2 separate regions of the Homo sapiens genome follow, and region 2 is linked to region 1. Evidence: promoter capture Hi-C in human tissues and cell types (Jung and others, 2019). All regions are on one chromosome and are shown on one strand. The core of a region is centred on a gene start or on the middle of the fragment in contact, and the rest is flanking DNA. Distances in the headings are between cores, read along the strand shown. Region 1 holds the start of SPRY1 (sprouty RTK signaling antagonist 1). Region 2 overlaps AFG2A (AAA ATPase AFG2A).

Region 1 (2,994 bases), core at 159-2,658:
AAGAACCAGTTTTTACAAATCCTTTCAGGAAGGCTTCCCAAGTCTCAGAAAAACAAGTAGGGGAGTGGCGGAGTCGAGTGCGTGACGGGCCAGCTGACGGCACGGTGTGCTCAGAGAACTCGGGTTCTAGTCGCTCCTCGCAAGGAACGAAGGAAGGGATGGCGGCTTCCTGACGAGCGAAAAATCCACGTCACGGGCGTTCGAGACTCCGCAGCGCCCGGGTCGGGGCCCGAACCGCCGTCGGCGGGTGGGTCACGGAGCCGCGCAGTACCCCGGCGAAACCTCGGAGCACGCGCCTGCCAGGCAGAGGCTGCCGCGGCCGGGAGGGGGAGGGGGATTTTTTTACCCTTTTCTTTTTTTTTTTTTTTTTAGCGGGGAGGAGTGAAGAGAGTGAGGTTTGGGGATCCTTCTCGGAGAGAGAAAGGCGGGCGTCGTCCCTTGTGCCCCGCGCAGGCCGACGCGCTTAGCCGATTCCGCACGTTGGGCAAGTGGGGGCACAGCGTCCCCGGGCACTCCGGTCCCGGCAGGTCAGCCTCTCCCGGGCAGCGCTCACACCCAGTCCTCCGAGCCTGGGGTTCCACGGCCGAAATGCCTGCGACAGAGAATTAGAGATAGAAGCTCGTGAATGTCCCTTTCTTCGAAGGGCTGGGACCCCGGGCGGGCCGCTGGCCAGCTCGCCCGCAGCCCGTTGCCATGTGCTCCCTGTTGCTGCTCCCGGTGATTGACAGGCCGGCGCACAGTCGGCGTGTCAGCCGCGAACCAAAGTAACATGCAGTCCTGCACGTTTTTGCCGAGGTGCTTTTGCCCCCTGGAATGCCTAGGAGTTCAAACAACGTTCAAGCAACGCCTCTGCGCGTTAGGAATCAATACACAGAGACGGGAAATTCAGGTTTTAAACCAATGCTTCACTCGGGATTCGGTCGCCAACAATGCCTAAACAAACACGCATTTGGTCCACACACCGAGTGCTAGCCCCTCTTCGCATAAAGGCATTAACGGCTCTGTGTTTCACAAATTCGATCGTTTCAGACTTTAAACGTCTACTGTTCGGTTAAGGAAAGGTGAAAGGGACCCTGCTTTTTCTTTTAGCGGTAGCATTTACTTTAAGAGCATTAGTTTTAGCAGTGGGAATGCTACCGGTGTTTTGAAATGCAACCAGTAACCTTAGCTGGAAAGCAAGTTCAAATAAATAAATGTTCAGTTCCTTGCAAAAGTCAACATTTCTCACCTTATCTTTCCTAAAATGTCTACGGAAGGAAACGGTACTTACCTAATGCAAAGATTGCAAATTGCTTTTCAGGCACATTTAACAGCGACTGTAGCTGTTCCTTATCCAGGGCAGGGAACTGTGCTGATAATCACTCTGCAAAGCACGCAGTGGTTTGCAGAGCGGTCTCACTCCGGCTACGCAGAATTTCAGCTCCTTGCCTCCACCTCCACCTCCACTCCAGGACACGCCTCCGGTGATATCATGTGTCAATCACTCGGGCTGCCCGAAAACCTGGAACAGGATTTCCTTAACTATCGTTTCCTCTTTCGTTTATGTGTACCAACTTGGAAATGTTGCCCTACAGACTCGTGTAATAAACATCCTCTTAAAACTTCGGGAGTGCCTCTAAAAATTCTGCAAATGCAGTTTGTCATAGAGGAATACATTCGGATTTAGTTAGCAATCTTCAGTTGTCGATCTCAATTAAAAGGATTGGTGGACTCTACTCTTAAGTTGAATTAGAAAAGAATTGTGAAGAATAAAAGAAAATGAAAAAAGTTGTATGCCAAGCCATCACTTCTGACCAACTAGAGGGAAAACGTATATTGACACAAAAAGATGATTATATAACATTACAGTTCCTATTTACAACAAAGTTCAGAATATGTGAAACCTAAAGTTCAAAAGGTGGCACTCCTTACTGCAAATGTAATATAAGCATATGTAATAAAGGTGAAATTTTCTGCTGTGGGTTTTTTAAATAATTGCTTTACCTTGGCTTGTTATATGATTTCCCAAAAATCAAGCACATGGAGAAAAAACCAAATTCTTTCAATTTTGTAATATAGTTGTATAATTTTGCAAAAAATACAAACCCGTATATTTTTTAATTAGCTAAAAGTCAATTAATTAGAATAGAAAAAATTTATCAAGAAGTTTTATAATTCTTAGTAATAGCTGATATGACTGGAAAAAAAACACTTTAAGTAGGAAACTTGATTTCTACTTTCTTACAAACTATGGGATTTTAGGCATTTATTATCAAAGTTGTGCCTTTTCATGCTGCAGTGAGGATAACTTTTTGTGGAATTGAAGGTTCCGTAGAAACTTTTAAAAGCCACCTAAAGACCAAAAACTTAGTGGAAAGGAAATATTTTTCCAGGTACTATATATCAGGAGTAGCTTAAAGTCTGGCAAAACAAAGCAAACAATAACAAAACTCTAGAATCTAAATCATATAAACATATAAGTATGGAAATTTTTAGTTCAAAGTACATTTTTAGTCTCATTTACAATAGCAAGTGGTTCTGTTGAAACTATAAATATATACATACATAACACACACGCACACACACAGGACTTTCAAATGTCTGAGCACTTTCAAAAATTAAAGTTGTGTTTGGAATTGCCTCTGAAGAACACAGAGCATTGTTAAGAACATGAATAACAATAAAAAAGCATCATTAGAAAATAGCATAGAATAAGAATCAAGCCAAAAAGCTACATATTCACTCTTAATATTATGAATTGTATTAAAATAGGCTATTTAAAAGAATAAAATTGATTTCATTGTATTTTTTTCATAGATCTCATTAGATTTGGGGATGTAATGAAATTTTACTAGTGATGGATAGGTTTCTTGTGAATGTATTTGGAATAGACAAATCAAAAATAGACTATCCTATCAGAGTATCTTATTTGGTTCTTCAAAACTATTACCACAGTTGTGAGCTGAGAGGTCAGTTCACCAATATGATAAAACCTGGAGAGGGAGCACTGAACAT
Region 2 (2,994 bases), core at 176-2,675, 150 kb after region 1:
TGGTGACATATATTACAACCATTTCACAATCTCATAGTTAATTTGTTTTATTTTTGTTTGTTTTGTTTTGTTTTAATGTACTTCACCATGTTCATACTTAGAGTTCCAAACAGACTGTTCAAATCCATGGGGTCATATCATCATATCTCATACCAGTGCTTTATAAAATACTCGAGTGAATGTTAACAAATGTAATGGAAAAAAGGGTTTTCTTGTTAAATAAATTTGGATAACACTGTGTAGAAACAAAATAAAAGGTTTGTATAGGTTTCTATATGAAGGAATTTTTGGAAATTATATTAATGGGTAATAAAAATATCTAGGAGAAACCTATGGTAGTATGTAAAAATTCTATTTTAAATTCCCAAACTCTAATCATGGAACATCTCAAAAACTAATATTTCTTTTCCACTTTGGAAAATGCTGTTGTATACTTTTTGTATATGTTATAATACCTAGAAGAGGGTGATTGTCTATCAAATATATATCAATCAATCCTTAACTTACGTACAAATTAGCTGGCAAAAATTCAATTAGGAAAATCATAAAATAAATATATTTCCCTTGCTTAAAAATGAGTGTTTTAATTCTTTGCAGACAATTCTGTACACCTTAAAATGTATTTTATCAAAGAATTCAAAACTCCATTTCAATCATGGAAATCACTTCTTTCTACCTAAAACAAATACAGGACTTAGGAAATAAAGATGATTTCAGTAAATACATATTTAAAAAATTGAAAATGTTATCTAAGACAAATAACATTAATATTTATATAGCACTTAAGGATCTATGAAGCATCTTTCACATACTGTAGCTCATTTAATATTCCCCCAAATTTTGGGAATTAGATATTATTATATCCTTATTAAGACAAAGAAAATGAGGCCCAAGGTCGTACAATAACTTACAGAAACTGCGCTGAAATCTGGGGTTTCTAAATGTTGAAGCAGTCCTTTTTAATTTTACTATTTTGACACTACATGATACTCATTATTGATGAACAAACAAAATTCTCTTTCTGAAATATAACTAACAAACTTCAACAATTCTCTCATCAAAAAAATTATTAAGCATCTACTATATGCCAGATTGATTTACTTGCTGGGGATACAGCCTTGGAGAGCTTGGTTATTTTTTTAAAGTTGAAGTTGTCCTTTTCACCCTATTGGAATAATAAATTCTAGGCTATTTTAAAATTTCCTTTCTAATAGTTGAAAGAACACAGCAAAGGATATACAGCATACATGTCAGCTAAGTCACTGGAACACTCAGCATACATCTGTGTGTGCTTATTTATTTATTTTTTTTAGCTGTAGCTATCCTCAGGCAGTGCAGGTTGAGTATACTTCAATGATTATTATAACATTGTCTGGGCCAACAGCCAGCTAGGCTTTTTCTGGCCTGGTCTTGTCAGTGAAAGTTATGCTTAAAAAATAGTAGGAAAGAGCCTTCCTTCCTGTAGAACTCTGAATGAGTAAACACCCTTCCTAGAATTTCTTTAAAAATACTGTTTTGGGATATTAGGGTGGAAGAATGTATTCTGAATAATAGCATGTTCTATTATTATTAAAATCACTATATGACAACTCAATGAAAAAAGAAGCCAAGGCTTTCTAATATTCTGAACCCTATGGCTCCAAGGCCATGTTGGATATCGTGGTCTGTCCATTAAAACTTTATTAAAAAACACAAATCATAGAACAAACTCCCTTTCTGAGAAGTTATTCAAGACCTTGGGCAAGTCTCTACATCTGTAACAGCCTCAGTTTCCTCATGTGTGAAAATGAAGGCGGCTCTTTAATTACAGGTGCCTATGTGCATTTGACAGAAATTCCCCTCAAACTATACATACAAAAAATACTCCCAATTTTGCAAATAATTCCAGGGAGTTCACCTGAACTCTGCTTGTGTGCTCCAGACTAAAAATTATCGTATTGGATGACCTTTTAAATGGGCCTTCCAGCCCCCAGTTCTAGGACCCCCTGCCATTCTTATATAACAAAATATCCACAGCTTACACTGCATAGTCATTACTGTAAACATGTTAGTTTATTATGAAACCAATATCCTTCTTTTCTTCTGACCTTTATATCAAGGACTCAAAACATCTGGTATTTCACATGAAGGAGTCTTAACTATCAAACCTTATACCACAATTATAAGGCTGCCTTTTCTTTTTTATAAATTCTGAAATTCAACACTTATAGTTTCATGTTCTATCAAATGCTCAAATCTAATTTCATTAACATAGAAATACTTGTTCAGACAAAAGTATTAAAATAGACACCTTGAAAAATCAGGTCCCATTGGCTCCCATTCATTTAAAATAATCAACAAGGGTGTGTATGTGTATATAGGGAGTGCCTTCCTCTAGGAAAGGAAAGCAGCACTGAGCCTTTATACTTTAATAAAAACATATCAATGAATCATGATTCATGGAGAGAATAGTTCCAGAAACCAGGGAGAAAGGTGGATCTTTGGTAACGGCTCTGAATTATCTCAAAGAAACCTTGGATTTATTCTAGGTATCTATTTCTTCCTCTAAATCCAACTAATGCATAGACCTGGCTAACACTACTTAAATCTCTCTTAAACCTGTCACTTCTACCCATTCTTCTTTATTGTGTATTTGTGTGTTTGTTTACTGTCTGTCTTTCCCAACAGATTGTAGACTGTATGTAATGGCAGGAATCATATTCATTTTATTCAACACTGTAAGCTCAGCTATGGCACATATAAGGCACCCAATAAATGTTTACTCAGTGATATCAAGCCAACACAATCATTTGTCTAGAATATCATAACTGCTGTGCTAGTTGTTTTTCTGCCTGCAGTCTTATTCTTTCCTTCTTTTTCCTTGCTTTATCTACATCATGGCTAATGTGATCATTTTAACTGCAAATACCTTAACTTCCTATTTTCTAATCATTTAATTGCACATCAAAGAAAAAAGTCCAAGTTCAAGTATAGCATTTCTCACCCTGTGAGAAA

Evidence for each region. The method cuts DNA at HindIII sites, captures the fragments that hold promoters and counts their contacts. A contact is called where the count stands out against the background at its distance.
Region 2: a contact is called between a fragment that was not itself captured here and the fragment with the promoter of SPRY1 in region 1, in 1 of the 25 tissues and cell types used here (aorta).

Annotation. Positions count from the first base shown.
Region 1 is chr4:123,395,209-123,398,202 of GRCh38, reverse strand. SPRY1 (sprouty RTK signaling antagonist 1) reads right to left here and starts at 1,408. Exons shown (of 3, transcript NM_001258038.2): 1 at 1,271-1,408; 2 at 347-592. The HindIII fragment of the contact is 12,155 bases long and covers 1-2,994 here.
Region 2 is chr4:123,249,409-123,252,402 of GRCh38, reverse strand. The region is part of intron 14 of AFG2A (AAA ATPase AFG2A); the gene reads right to left. Among named protein-coding and RNA genes, the nearest start is that of SPRY1, 150 kb to the left of the region's middle. The HindIII fragment of the contact is 5,744 bases long and covers 1-2,994 here.